3 separate regions of the Homo sapiens genome follow, and all the other regions are linked to region 3. Evidence: promoter capture Hi-C in 16 types of primary human blood cells and fetal thymus (Javierre and others, 2016). All regions are on one chromosome and are shown on one strand. The core of a region is centred on a gene start or on the middle of the fragment in contact, and the rest is flanking DNA. Distances in the headings are between cores, read along the strand shown. Region 1 holds the start of TMED4 (transmembrane p24 trafficking protein 4). Region 2 overlaps C7orf25 (chromosome 7 open reading frame 25). Region 3 holds the start of MRPS24 (mitochondrial ribosomal protein S24).

Region 1 (4,717 bases), core at 850-3,349, 710 kb before region 3:
CACCCAGCTAATTTTTGTATTTTTGGTAGAGGTAGGGTTTCACCATATTGGCCAGGCTGGTCTCGAACTCCTGACCTCGTGATCTGCCCACCTTGGCCTCCCAAAGTGCTGGGATTACAGGTGTGAGCCACTGCGCCCGGCCCTGTTTTTGTTTGTTTTGAGATAGAATCTCACTCTGTTGCCTAGGCTGGAGTACAGTGGCATCATCTCAGCCCACTGCAACCTCCACCTCCCTGATTCTAGCAATTCTCCTGCCTCAGCCTCCCAAGTAGCTGAGATTACAGGTGTGCACCACCACACCTGGCTAATTTTTGTATTTTTAGTAGAAACAGGGTTTCACCATGTTGGCCAGGCTGGTCTCAAACTCCTGACCTCAAGTGATCCTTCCACCTCAGCCTCCCAAAGTGCTGGGATTACAGGCATGAGCCACTGTGCCCAGCCAAAATTGTTATATATTAAGAGACATATATTTGTATGAAATGCAGTAAGTAAACCTTGTTTGGACCCTAAATATCTAATGTACAAAATTTTTTAAGGCAATGGGGAAAATTAAACACATACTAGGTATTAAGTGATGTTAAATAATTTTTAAAATTTTGGTGGGTGTGATAATAGTATAAAGTCCTTATCTGTTAGAGACACACACTGACGTATTTATAGGTGAAATGACATGATGTCCAGGATTTGCTTTAATATACAGCACTTCAAAAAAAAATGCAGAAAGGGATACATGAAATGAGAAAGGCAGCAAACTGTTGTTGAAGTTGGATGATGAGTACAGCCCTCCGTTATTATCCAAGGGGGATAATTCCTGGACCCCTACGGATACCAAAATCCAGGTATGCTCAAGTTCTTTATGAAAGTTCATTGTAATTATTCTATTATATAAAAGTTTCGAAATTCTGTTGATAAAATGTATTTTTAGTAGAGACGGGGGTTTCACCTTGTTGGCCCAACTGGTCTCGAATTTCTAACCTCAGATGATCCACCAGCCTTGGCCGCCCAAAGTGTTAGCATTACAGGCGTGAGCCACCGCGCCCGCCTGGCCTTGATAAAAACAGTTTTAACCTTCCGTTGCTTCGATTCCATGCCCACTAAGTAACATTCCAGTTTGTTTTTCACTTTCAAAAGGATGTGCTGTAACTAGGGGATGTAAACAAGCTCCATGACCCTACTTATTCCAAGTTTTCGTTCCACTCTCCCACCTTTTTTTTAAGACAAGGTATCACCCTCGGTCGCCCAGGCTGGAGCGCGATCACTGCTTAATGCATCCTCGACCTCCTGGGTTCAAGCGATTCTCCTGCCTCAGCCTCCCAAGTAGCTGGGACTACATGCGCACACCACCACACCGGTTAATTTTTTGTAGAGACGGGGGTTTCACCATGTTGCCCAGGCTGGTCCCGAACTCCTGGGCTCAAGGGATCCGCCCGCCTCAGCCTCCCAGAGTGCTGGGATTACAGGTGCCAGCCACCGCGCCCGGCCCCAGCTTCTTAAAAGAATGATCCGAAACTATGGCAGCACTGGGCTTTTGGTCCCCACCCAAGAAATGCCCGCTCGCAGAGGCTCGCCGCGGCAGGCTCTCCCGACGTGACAGAGTGTGGGTCTGGATTCAGCCTCGGTTCTTACGAGTCAGATAGGTGGACACGCAAAGCAAAACATCACAGGGCTTTTTGTATTTAGCACAGAAAACACTTGTGAGCCCGAGCTGAGAACCCAAAAGGCACGCTTCAGGCCATCGTAGCCACCAAGCCTGGTCAGATTCCGTCCACCGTCTCCTTGGTGCTCCGAGACCCAAATCGCTGACTGGGGCCGAGGGCGGGCGTGACTGCGCAGGCGTGCCTCCCCTGCGAGATGCCGGAGGTAAGCTGCGGGGTAAGGGGCGAGAAATTAAGGGCGAACGTCATTGCGCATGCGCCCTCTACTCTCGTTGCGGGGGTAGGCGGGCGCCGGGCTGTGTGAGGGGGCGGGGCGCGGCAGTGTTCGGTACGGATGGAGTTGCAGGAGACGGCGAGTACATATCACTGCGCAGGCGTCCTCTTCCCCTAACTCTCAGGGTCGCTAGGGTGGCGCGCAGGCGCAGAGCGATGCGCAAATGTGCGCAGGCGCTTAGGGGCTGAGGCGCGATGGCAGGTGTCGGGGCTGGGCCTCTGCGGGCGATGGGGCGGCAGGCCCTGCTGCTTCTCGCGCTGTGCGCCACAGGCGCCCAGGGGCTCTACTTCCACATCGGCGAGACCGAGAAGCGCTGTTTCATCGAGGAAATCCCCGACGAGACCATGGTCATCGGTCAGGCGGGCTGAGGGTGGGGAGGCCCTTTGTACCCAGCTCAGCCCTCGGCGGCGCTCCCTCCTCCCGAGCCCAGCCGGGTCGCTGGCTCCCCCAGTACCTAGCCTGAGGGTGCCCCGAGGACGCCAGGCCCCCTGCCTAGAGCTCCGGGCCGCACGTCGGAGGGGGCCGGGCGGAGAGGCGGCCCACTAGGGCCGGTCGTGACTATGTGTCTGCCCCGCAGGCAACTATCGTACCCAGATGTGGGATAAGCAGAAGGAGGTCTTCCTGCCCTCGACCCCTGGCCTGGGCATGCACGTGGAAGTGAAGGACCCCGACGGCAAGGTAAGGCTGGCGTTGGCCCACGCAGCCGTTCTTCAGTGGAGCTCCCGTGGGGTGTAAAGCACTGCCTGGAGGAGGCCTCAAGGGACAGGAACTTGCACTTGGAGAGCCTGCGGTATAAAGGTGGGGCCTTCACTCACATATGTTGCAGGTGGTGCTGTCCCGGCAGTACGGCTCGGAGGGCCGCTTCACGTTCACCTCCCACACGCCCGGTGACCATCAAATCTGTCTGCACTCCAATTCTACCAGGATGGCTCTCTTCGCTGGTGGCAAACTGGTAAGAGGATTTTCTCTTTGGCTTCAGCTTAGAATCTCTCACTTGTTTCCAAATTTTGATTTATCAAGATTGTGAAACTTTGTAGCACAGTCAGAATTGGGGAGACAGATGTTGCCTTCTGCTCCACAGCCAGGGACAATAGTGGGTTCCATACCCTGGAACAGACAACTGGAGGCCCCACCACTCATACATTCCATGTTTCCTTGTAGCGGGTGCATCTCGACATCCAGGTTGGGGAGCATGCCAACAACTACCCTGAGATTGCTGCAAAAGATAAGCTGACGGAGCTACAGCTCCGCGCCCGCCAGTTGCTTGATCAGGTGGAACAGATTCAGAAGGAGCAGGATTACCAAAGGGCAAGTGCATATCTCCTTGTAATTTGAGAGGGCAGTTGACCTTTATACCCACTATACCTACTCAAGTTTCTGCTTGGGAGATCAGCTCTGCAGAGAATGGAATGAGAAGTATTGGTTTAGATAGGTTGTTTGTTTGTTGTTTTTGAGACGGAGTTTCACTCTTGTTGCCCATGCTGGAGTGCAATGCCATGATCTTGGCTCACTGCAACCTCCGCCTCCCCAGGTTCAAGCGATTCTCCTGCCTCAGCCTCCTGAGTAGCTGGGATTACAGGCATGCGCCACCATGCCTGGCTAATTTTGTACTTTTAGTAGAGACGGGGGTTTCTCCACGTTGGTCAGGCTGGTCTCGAACTCCCGACATCAAGTGATCCGCCCGCCTCAGCCTCCCAAAGTGCTGGGATTACAGGTGTGAGCTACCGCGCCCTGCCTGTTTTGCTTTTTTATCAAAACATTTTATTGTGGTAAAATATAACACCAAATGTGTCATTTTAACTGTCTATATAGTTCAGTGGTATTAAGTGCCTTCATAATGTTGTGCTACCAACACCATCATCCAGCTCCAGAACTTTTTCATCTTCTCAAACTAAAAATCTGTACTTATTTTGTTTTGTTTTTGAGATGGAGTCTCGCTCTGTTGCCCAGGCTGGAGCGCAGTGGCGCCATCTCGGCTCACTGCACCCTCCGCCTCCCAGGTTCAAGCGATTCTCCTGCCTCAGCCTCCCAAGTAGCTGGGATTACAGGCAAGTGCCACCATGCGTGGCTCATTTTTGTGTTTTTAGTAGAGACTGGGTTTCACCATGTTGGCCAGGCTGGTCTTGAACTCCTGGCCTCAGGCAATCCACTGCCGCAGCCTCCCAAAGTGTTGGGATTACAGGCGTGAGCCACTGCACCCAGCAAATCTGTACTTATTATAAACAATAACTTCCCGTTTCCTTTTGTCCTGACACCCACCATTCTACTTTCTGTCTCTATGATCCTGACTACCCTATCTCATATAAGTGGAATCATTCAGTATTTGTCCTTTTGTGACTGGCTTATTTCACTGAGTATAATGTTCTCACAGTTCATCCATGTTATAGCATGTGTCAGAATTTCTTAAGGCTAATATTCCATTGTATGCATGTGCCACATTTCGCTTTCAGTAGTCATTTTTAAGCTCTATAAAATAAAATGAAGAAAGGACAGTTCACAATCTAGTAATAGCCATTGCCTACCTGTTTTTCTTGGACTCTTGTTGGAAATGGTAGGATCATGATTTCAGTCCTAACAGAGATGCTTGTGGAGGGACAGCCTGTCCCTTTCTTGGGGCAGCCTCAGTGGGGAGACCATAGCACTCCTAATGGAGTCACAGATAGTATTCCAAAAGGAGTTTGGTCCTGGAGTTGAGTAATTACACGCAGGGAGGGACCTCACAACAGCCAGACTGTTTCTCCTGCTCACTTAACCCTGTGTTGCCCCACACAGTATCGTGAAGAGCGCT
Region 2 (4,502 bases), core at 515-3,014, 960 kb after region 3:
CATGTCTTTGGTTATACAGATACCTTAGGAGAAAAGCAAACCCTTGTGGTAGATGTAGTTGCAAATGGTGGTCATACTTGGGTGAAAGCCATTGGCCGGAAGGCTGAAGCTCTTCATAACATCTGGCTGGGCAGGGGCCAATATGGTGACAAAAGCATCATTGAGCAGGCTGAAGACTTCCTCCAGGCCAGTCACCAGCAGCCAGTGCAGTATAGCAACCCTCACATCATCTTTGCATTTTACAACAGTGTCTCCAGCCCCATGGCAGAGAAGCTGAAAGAAATGGGCATATCTGTGAGAGGAGACATAGTAGCAGTCAACGCTCTGTTAGATCACCCTGAAGAGCTTCAACCAAGTGAGAGTGAATCAGATGATGAGGGCCCTGAACTTTTGCAGGTGACCAGAGTTGACCGAGAAAATATACTAGCAAGTGTTGCGTTTCCAACAGAAATTAAGGTCGATGTGTGCAAAAGAGTAAATCTGGACATTACTACTTTAATCACATATGTATCTGCCCTCAGCTATGGAGGCTGCCACTTTATTTTCAAAGAGAAAGTGCTCACAGAACAAGCAGAGCAAGAGAGGAAAGAGCAGGTTCTACCTCAGCTGGAGGCCTTTATGAAGGACAAGGAGTTGTTTGCTTGTGAATCTGCTGTCAAGGACTTTCAGTCTATTTTAGATACCTTAGGAGGACCTGGGGAGAGAGAGAGGGCCACTGTGTTAATTAAGCGAATTAATGTGGTACCAGACCAGCCTTCTGAGCGTGCCTTGAGACTAGTGGCCAGTTCAAAAATTAATAGCCGCTCATTAACAATTTTTGGGACGGGAGACACCCTAAAAGCCATCACAATGACTGCTAATAGTGGTTTTGTCAGAGCTGCAAACAACCAGGGTGTTAAATTTAGTGTGTTTATCCATCAGCCCAGAGCACTTACTGAGAGTAAAGAGGCTCTAGCCACCCCCTTACCAAAAGACTACACAACTGACAGTGAACACTAAAGATACCCTTTAAATATTTTTGTGGAAGTAAGTTATTTATACCAAAGGCTGGGTCTTCCCATCTAAACTGGTGGGAAAAAAGGTCTATAGTAAAAGTAAAACTGAGAACTCTTAAACCAGTAGAGTTTCTTTGTCTCTCATCTAAAGTATATAACCTCCCAAAGTAGAAAAAGCACAAGAGAGAAGCTTATCTATCAAACTGTCTGCATTAGTGCAATTAAGAACCGAAATACGTCTATATAAAGCTTTCAGCTGTATTGTAATACTTTGATTCGATAGGGCTACAACTCCCCTACTGCTAACCACATTTCATGGAATATGGCTACATTGCATCTTGCATTAAATATCTGGAGAAAATTCAAGCCTGTTTTTCATTGTATTGCTTTATATGGTTTAGGCTGGGAGGTAGTCGTTGGTAATCAATTTTAGATTCTAAGGTTAACCATTAATGAAAAACTTATTTGCTGTATGTCAGGTGCAGTCTGATAGGTGTTTTTACAAAAAGTACATAATACAGAAGAAATGAGAAAGTGAATTATGGTTATTTGAGTGCCATGAACCCATTGGTAGACCTTTGTGAAAAGAAAGCCAACAATCTTACTACTATAAGATAAAACCAGGACACTTAAGGTAAAATACTAATTTGAATGAATTGAAAAAGGATTATGTAAAAGATTTTAAAAATTCAATACAGAAAGCCCCCATATTATAAGTATTTGAACAATAAATACTATTTTCATGTTTCATTTGCAAGTGGCAAGTGACAACTGCATTACCTTACTTTCATGAGATGGTGACAGAATATTCCATGCCAATTCCATGACACAAGTTGTAGTTAAAAATACACTTCTATGGCTACATTGCGCTAGATACTTTATCAGTTTTCAATAAAGCAAAACTAGCAAAGTCGGTATGTATTCACCACATTTAAAAATTTGGAATTTGAGTCCTGGAGCTTAAATATTAACTCATGCTAAGTGTAGGAGCTGGTATTAAAACTTGATGTTTCTAGCCACAGTCTGATCTCTTTCTACCATGCCAAATGTCGTATTTGTTGAGAAGAGAATCTCAATTTACAGCCACAGTGTTTGTTGGGGTGGAATTTGGTTATTGGCATTCATGAACACCCTGAAATGAATGCAAAATTAAGTGTATGGGGGTGGTTCTCTGGGGAGAGATTGCTTTACTAAGTCAGAATACATTTTCTAGTAGAAAGGCTGTGATTTGCTTCCAGTTTAGTGTAGAGTGGTATATGTCTAGTGTTAGAAATGGAATTTAAGCTTTTTGAGCATCTATTAAGGTCATGTAGTACTTGATACTATTAAGTACCAAGCATTATAATAGTTTGGTGTGAAAAGATGAATGTTTGCTCTAAGGAATTCTTAAGTCTAAAGTGGAAGTAAACAACTGAAGTGCAATTAAATGTACTAAATTCTCTAGGATATGTTGAAAATACTATGGGGACAGAGTAAAGGAGTACTTGTTATGGGGCCAGGAAGTCAGAGAGGAAGTGTTGTTTGAGGGTTTGGGGTGTGAAATTTCACAAGATGTGTGAGAAAGGGTACTCAAAAGTACATGGAGGAATGGGATTGGAAAAGTACCAGAACTGTGACTATGAGGACCTGTTCAGGGACCAGGCTCAAGTGGACAGTTTATAAAACAAGATGGAGCTAGAAAAAAAAGTCAAAGTTCTCTAAAGAGTTTGGCATTAGAGAGCCATTGGTGATTTTTAAGAAAGTGTGGCTTATGATCAGGTCTCTTAAGGAAACCACAAAAATCTGTAGTGTGGATAAAAATTGAAAGAAAGTTTGGACTATAATGACCTTAGCTAGAGCAGGAATGATGGACTGTAGAGTCATGGATACATGTTGGATTTGTTTGAGGCAGAATTGACATATTAATGTACTCATTCGTTTAATAAGCATTGAGTGACAGCCATGTGTCAGACACAGTACAAAGGGCATGGCATATAAAAGACTTGTTTTAAAGGAGCAGAAAGAAGGTAGATTTCTATCCCTGCTCCCTATGAATCAATCAATACCTAAGAACTTGGGATCTTTGCCAACTAGAAAGTGGACAGGCCACAGCACTCTTTAGGAAACTGCTTTGTGAAGTGACCACAGCTGTGCCCTGCCAAAGACCATGATGTTTTTTCAAGCATTCCAGTGATTGCAACTCCTAACAATGTAATAAATAATGCAAGCAGTACATATGCTCAAGTAGTAGGGCACTGGATCCTGGAATGTAAGAAATAGCACCTTCCCTAGAGACCACACACATGATCTACACTGTCAAGGTCTATTCCAGCTGGCCAAAACATTCCTTTCATAAAGGTAAAATATTAGACAATAAAGGCCGGATGTGGTGGTTCACACCTGTAATCCCAAAACTTTGGGAGGCTGAGGGGCAGATCACCTGAGGTCAGGAGTTCAATACCAGCCTGGCTGGCATGGTGAAACCCTGTCTGTACTAAAAATACAAAAATTAGCCAGGCATGTTGGTGGGTATCTGTAACCCCAGCTACTCAGGAGGCCGAGGCAGGAGAATCACTTGAACCTGGGAGGTGGAGGTTGCAGTGAGCCGAGATCACGTCATTGCACTTCAGCCTGGGTAACAAGAGCGAGGCTACATCTCAAAAAAAAAAAGAGACAATAAAAACAATGAGGGAAGTTATAAAAGGAATGTTCAATTAAATATCAGTTAACTGGTAAGTCAAAGGAATCACAGAGCTATAGCTATAAAGCAAACAAATGTCCAAATAGTTCTAAAGTGTGAAGATACGTAATAAACTGTCGTTATGCCTGGGAATTGGAAGTGGTTGAGGAAAGTAAAAGCATGCTAAAAATCCTCATCTTACTTAGAGTCAACAGACACTTTGAAATTTTGCTATTGAAAAATAGAGCTATTTAGTTTTGAGTGTCAAACAGGAAATATAACTGATAGTATAAATTAAACCAAGCTGAATAGCTGAATAAATTCCAAACAAAAGGTGAGGATGGAGAATAAATGTAGTCCATATAGAAAAAGACAGGTCAGGCTGGGCGCTGTGGCTTACACCTGTAATCCCAGCACTTTGGGAGGCTGAGGCAGGGTGGATCCCTTGAGCCCAGGACTTCAAGACCAGCCTGGGCAACATGGCAAAACCCCGCTCTACAAAAAATACAAAAATTAGCCAGGCATGGTAGTGCACTCCTGCAGTCCCAGGTACCAGGGAGGCTGAGGCAGGAGGCTCACCTGAGCCTGGGAGGTCAAGGCTGCAGTGAGTTTTGGTTGTACCACTGTACTCCAGCCTGGGCAACAGAGTGAGACCCTGTCTCAAAAAGAAAAAGATAAAAGAATTGTGAATGAGGCATAAAAAGCAGAAAGCATAAAATAAGAGTGCTAGCTGCAAGCACAGGAAGGATATAAAACAGCTTTGGAGGGAGATATATAGATAATTGTGATATACTGGGAAATCTCATTGGAACAGATGACTGTTTCAGGAAATGTAAATTAGAATTGAA
Region 3 (4,457 bases), core at 675-3,174:
CTTGAATAGAGGAAAGCATAAATTTGATCATTTGATTGCCTACTGCTTTATGGGCTAAACTTGATTCCCAACCACAGCCTTCGTGGTGTGGCCCCTGCCCACCTTGGGCCCCAATAGGTGTTGTGCCATTGCCACCTCTGCCTCTGATCAGCCCAAGGATCTTGTTTCCCTTTCTCCTTCCCCTTTCCTCTGATTAGGGTGGTGTTGCTATGAGTTCTCACAGAACCCTCAATAGCTGGCTCATCTCCCTAACGGGATATGTGGCTATCAGGGACTCGTTAAAAACAACAACAAAACCCACAACTGCTCTCTCCCTCTGCCAGGCACATCATACTGTACTTCTCACAACCACCATTATTGTCCCCAGTTTACAGATGAGAGAAACCGAGGCTCAGAAGGTTCAGTCACTTGTCCAAATTACACAGCCAGGAAGCATTGGGTCCACGATTTGGACTCAGGCAATTCAGATGCCACATCCCATGTTCCTCACCACCTTGGAGCAAATTAATGAAACTTAACAATTATAAAATTATTGAACATTATGAAAACTTTAAAAAATAATTGTCAGTTGAAAAGGATTTCTTAGGAAATGTTGAAAGTTCTTACATTTGCAAAGTATGCATTGGAGGGCACCTCATCCCTGTTCTGTCCCTTTATTCAATATGCATAACAGTTGGGGGCCGCAGTTCCTAAAAAGTAAGAATAAAACATTTCTGGTGAAGTGGACATGGAAGACCTTGTCCTTTTATTACGGGTTTTTTGAGAACCCACCTTCATGTAATCAGAGGAATCTTGGTCATGGGAAATGGGCTGGACTGAAGTCAAGAGACTTGTGTCTTGGTCCCTCTTTCCCTCTTCTCAGTGTGGTCATGGGCAACTCATTTCCACCGTTCTTCCATTTCCCCTTCCCATGGATCATAATCCAGTCCTCCCCCTGACAGGAAACCGCAGCAGTATGCAAGTACTGTACCATTAAGGGGAATGATGTAGACCCAGAACGGCCAAAACATTGGCAATTTCACATCACTCAACCAAACACAACCCATCATTGATTAAATATTCTCTTGATCCTAATAGCTCTATAAGGTAGTACTATTATTAAGGCCCATTTTATAGATAATAGAACTGAGTCTTAACTGTACAAAGATTGTTATACATGGGTCTGACTCCAGAGCCCGTGTTTTTTCCATGACCGTGGTGACTTCTAAAATAAAATATCCCGCGTTGCTATTTTTCCGTTTGACATTAATAATTACTGGATACCAATAATAGTGGCGACGCACTGGTTTCAGCATTACAGGCCCTGCGATATTCTCACGAATCTCCTTGCCCTCCGGCCCCTTCCCCGTACTTAAAATTTTCCTTCCTCAGGGGCCAGTCACCACTGTGGTCACATGTGGCAAACCCATTCTTGCATAACTGCGTAAGTCATCCTTGAAGAATTGGGTGACGTTTTAACCAAAATATGTTTCTTCTTTATTTGTGGATAAAAGTCTGGAGGGTTTTTCTGTTTTGTTTTTCTACGAATATTATTTGGAGGCATAACTAGGACCTGGGGAAACGCTTGGCTCCTCTTCGAGCCCCGAGGGTGCAGGTTGGGCAGGGCGGGCTCCGGTGGGCCGCACACCCATCACCCGTACTAGCGTGAGGTTGTCGAAGAGAAAATCTCACGTTTCGCATCCTCAAATTTCCGGATCTGAAACCCTATGCAAGCAGCAACCGCGGGAGAGCGAACAGCGGCGGGATGAGCATTCACAAGGCTGAGCATTCACAGGGCTGCGGGGAAGGCGGGAGTAACAGCTAGCAGCATACCGCGGCCCCGCCCCGCAGAGGCCCTGCCCCGCCCCCGCCAGAGTACAGAGTACGAGCTCCGACTTGGTCTCGTCCGCGGTCGTCCCCACCCCTCAGCGCGCTGTGGTACGTCCCGCGCTCCGCTTGGCCCAAGATGGCGGCCTCCGTGTGCAGCGGGTTGCTGGGGCCACGGGTGAGTGGGGCGACTCGGCAGGTCCCTGCGAGTCGGAGGTGGGGTCCCTAGTTTCCGCCTCACGCGCCCTCCCTCCACAGGTGCTGTCCTGGAGCCGAGAGCTGCCTTGCGCTTGGCGCGCCCTGCACACCTCCCCGGTCTGCGCCAAGGTGAGCACCGCCGGGGCAGGGGCCTGGGGGCCTGGGGGCCGGGGGGCCGGGGGCCGGGGAAGCCGTGCGGGCTGAAGGGGGCGTGTCGCTGGGGTCCGAGGCGGGGCTAGGGTCGGGGCTTAGGGATCAGGGGATTGGGGCCGGGGAACAGTGCCAGCTGACTGGGGGGACATGGCGCGAAGTAGGGGTCTGGATCGGGGATCTCGTGGAGTCACGGCCCCTTTTGCTCCTAGAACCGGGCGGCCCGAGTACGCGTAAGCAAGGGGGACAAGCCGGTGACCTACGAGGAGGCACACGCGCCGCACTACATCGCCCACCGTAAAGGCTGGCTGTCGCTGCACACAGGTGAGCGGACCCCAGGCCTCCAAAAGGAGCACTCAATCCGACTGTCATGTAAACAAAATGAACACGTGTCACAGGTTTTCTTTAACTCAGGAAATAATGCTAGGGTCAGAAATCTATGAAACCAACTCAAGGGAGACATAAAAAAGCAGAGATATATATAGATCAGGATGTTGAAACAAATTTGAAGATGGATGCAAAACTGACTTTTTCCATGGCAGGCAGGGACTCAATTGATCCTCCACTGAACAGAAATTATTTGCATGTCTACAGACAAGAATTATTTTGCATTCCTGTCAGTTATCTGTAATTTACAGAGCTGTAAAATAGCTCAGAGTCAAGGAAAGGAGTGAAACCGTTGCAGAATCTGATAACCCTGAACAGTGTGCTCTAAGGAATGCAGTTTTCCACTAAAGCACAAATTTTTCTCTGTAAATATATACAGACAACCCTCGTTATTCATGAATTCCATATTTTCAGATTCTTCTACTGACTAAAATTTATTTGTAAGCCCCAAATCAACACTCTGGGCACTCTCAAGGTCACTCTGAGATGTGGGTGGAGCTGCCACCCCAGGTGCATGTCCCGAGCTGAGGTCGACAAGGCTCTGCCTAGTTTCAGCTCTCGTACTGTAAAAGGTGTCCTTTTTATGGTCTAGAATCTTTTTTTTTTAATTTGCATTTTCGTGCTTTTTGTTAGTGATTTTGCTGTTTAAAATGGCCTTGCAATGCTGAAGTGCTATCTAGTGTTCCTAAGCGGGAGAAGGCTGTGACGTGCCTTAGGGAGAACATACATGTATTAGAGAATCTTTCTTCAGTCATGAGTTGCTCTTGGCCCTGAATTCAATGTTAGTGAATCTACCATATATATTAAACAAGGTGTCTTTAAACAGAAACACAAAGGAAACTAGGTTATGTATTGATTTGTTAACAAAAATACGGTGCCCAGAGGCTGAAAGGAATCTAACCCTGTATTTCACCTAGGAGCAATGGTTCAGTATTCACTAAGTCAGTGTTGGCAGTGACTTTATAGAATATAACTATTGTGAACAATTGATAACCAACTGTGCTTTGTTTAGTACAGGGGTTCTTGGATGTTTGAGATGCATCTAGAGAACTTACTTAAAATACAGATGCTTGCCTGGCACGGTGGCTCACGCCTGTAATCCCAGCACTTTGGGAGGCCGAGGAGGGTGGATCCTGAGGTCAGGAGTTCAATACCAACCTGGCCAAGATGGTGAAACCCCATCTCTACTAAAAATACAAAAAAATTAGCTGGGCGTAGTGGCGGGCGCCTGCAATCCCAGCTATTCAGGAGGCTGAGGCAGAGAATTGTTTGAACCCAAGAGGCGGAGGTTGCAGTGAGCCGAGATCACGCCACTGCACTCCAGCCTGGACGACAGAGTGAGACTCCATCTCAAAAAAAAAAAAAAAAAAAAAAAAAAAGAGAGAGAGATGCTTGTCTCCCACTCTTTCAGGTTCTGGTCTGAGGTTTGGATGTAGGTGTGCAGACTCTTAGTGGACATTGTAAGGGCTGCAGGGGATCCACAGTTCACACTGAGGAACCCACTGGTGGAAGCCCTGGGCCTAGCTCATGTCCCTAATCTCAAAAATAGCTGGTAGCCTCATCTTTCTGGCCCATGGGATGACCAGTGTTTTTATAAGGCAGCCAAGAAAGCAGGAAAGGGGCTAGATGTGGTGGCATCATCTTGAGTTTTGTACCCTGACTCAGGCCTCCATCTTCCTTTTTGTAAAATAAGGATAATGATAATACCTACTAAACTGAATTGGCTTGGGAATTAATGACATAACATACTTTGAACTTTAAAGTGTTATTTTTCTTATTCCATTAGCAGAAGAAAAGAGAAGAGGCTGGGGGTGAAGGGTGGGATTGTGCTCAGCGCTTTTGGATGTTGACTCTGGAGTTATGGCAGGGCCCTGGGGCAATGAGGCTGATTCTTCTATTATGCCCTTCCCTCTTCA

Evidence for each region. Contacts are between HindIII fragments. The CHiCAGO score rates a contact against its expected background, and 5 or more counts as called.
Region 1: a contact is called between the fragment with the promoter of TMED4 here and the fragment with the promoter of MRPS24 in region 3, in 1 of 17 cell types (non-activated CD4 T cells). The highest score is 5.0, in non-activated CD4 T cells.
Region 2: a fragment that was not itself captured here is called in contact with the fragment with the promoter of MRPS24 in region 3 in 3 of 17 cell types (naive B cells, naive CD8 T cells and total B cells); the score reaches 6.7 in naive B cells.

What each region holds. Positions count from the first base shown.
Region 1 is chr7:44,579,613-44,584,329 of GRCh38, reverse strand. TMED4 (transmembrane p24 trafficking protein 4) reads left to right here and starts at 2,099. Exons shown (of 5, transcript NM_182547.4): 1 at 2,099-2,283; 2 at 2,507-2,607; 3 at 2,756-2,881; 4 at 3,091-3,237; 5 at 4,702-4,717. The coding sequence starts at 2,124. RefSeq lists an enhancer at 1,616-1,725 and silencers at 1,816-1,975, 2,376-2,475. The HindIII fragment of the contact is 9,471 bases long and covers 1-4,717 here.
Region 2 is chr7:42,906,132-42,910,633 of GRCh38, reverse strand. C7orf25 (chromosome 7 open reading frame 25) reads left to right here. Exons shown (of 2, transcript NM_001099858.2): 2 at 1-1,361. The coding sequence ends at 999. Among named protein-coding and RNA genes, the nearest start is that of C7orf25, 3.7 kb to the left of the region's middle. The HindIII fragment of the contact is 1,035 bases long and covers 1,247-2,281 here.
Region 3 is chr7:43,866,984-43,871,440 of GRCh38, reverse strand. MRPS24 (mitochondrial ribosomal protein S24) reads left to right here and starts at 1,924. Exons shown (of 4, transcript NM_032014.3): 1 at 1,924-1,984; 2 at 2,065-2,133; 3 at 2,367-2,478. The coding sequence starts at 1,946. It overlaps URGCP-MRPS24 (URGCP-MRPS24 readthrough), which reads left to right. Exons shown (of 7, transcript NM_001204871.2): 5 at 2,065-2,133; 6 at 2,367-2,478. The coding sequence ends at 2,455. It overlaps LOC124901620 (a long non-coding RNA gene), which reads right to left and starts at 1,795. Exons shown (of 2, transcript XR_007060296.1): 1 at 607-1,795; 2 at 1-493. RefSeq lists an enhancer at 1,443-1,562 and silencers at 1,793-1,852, 2,153-2,212. The HindIII fragment of the contact is 8,402 bases long and covers 1-4,457 here.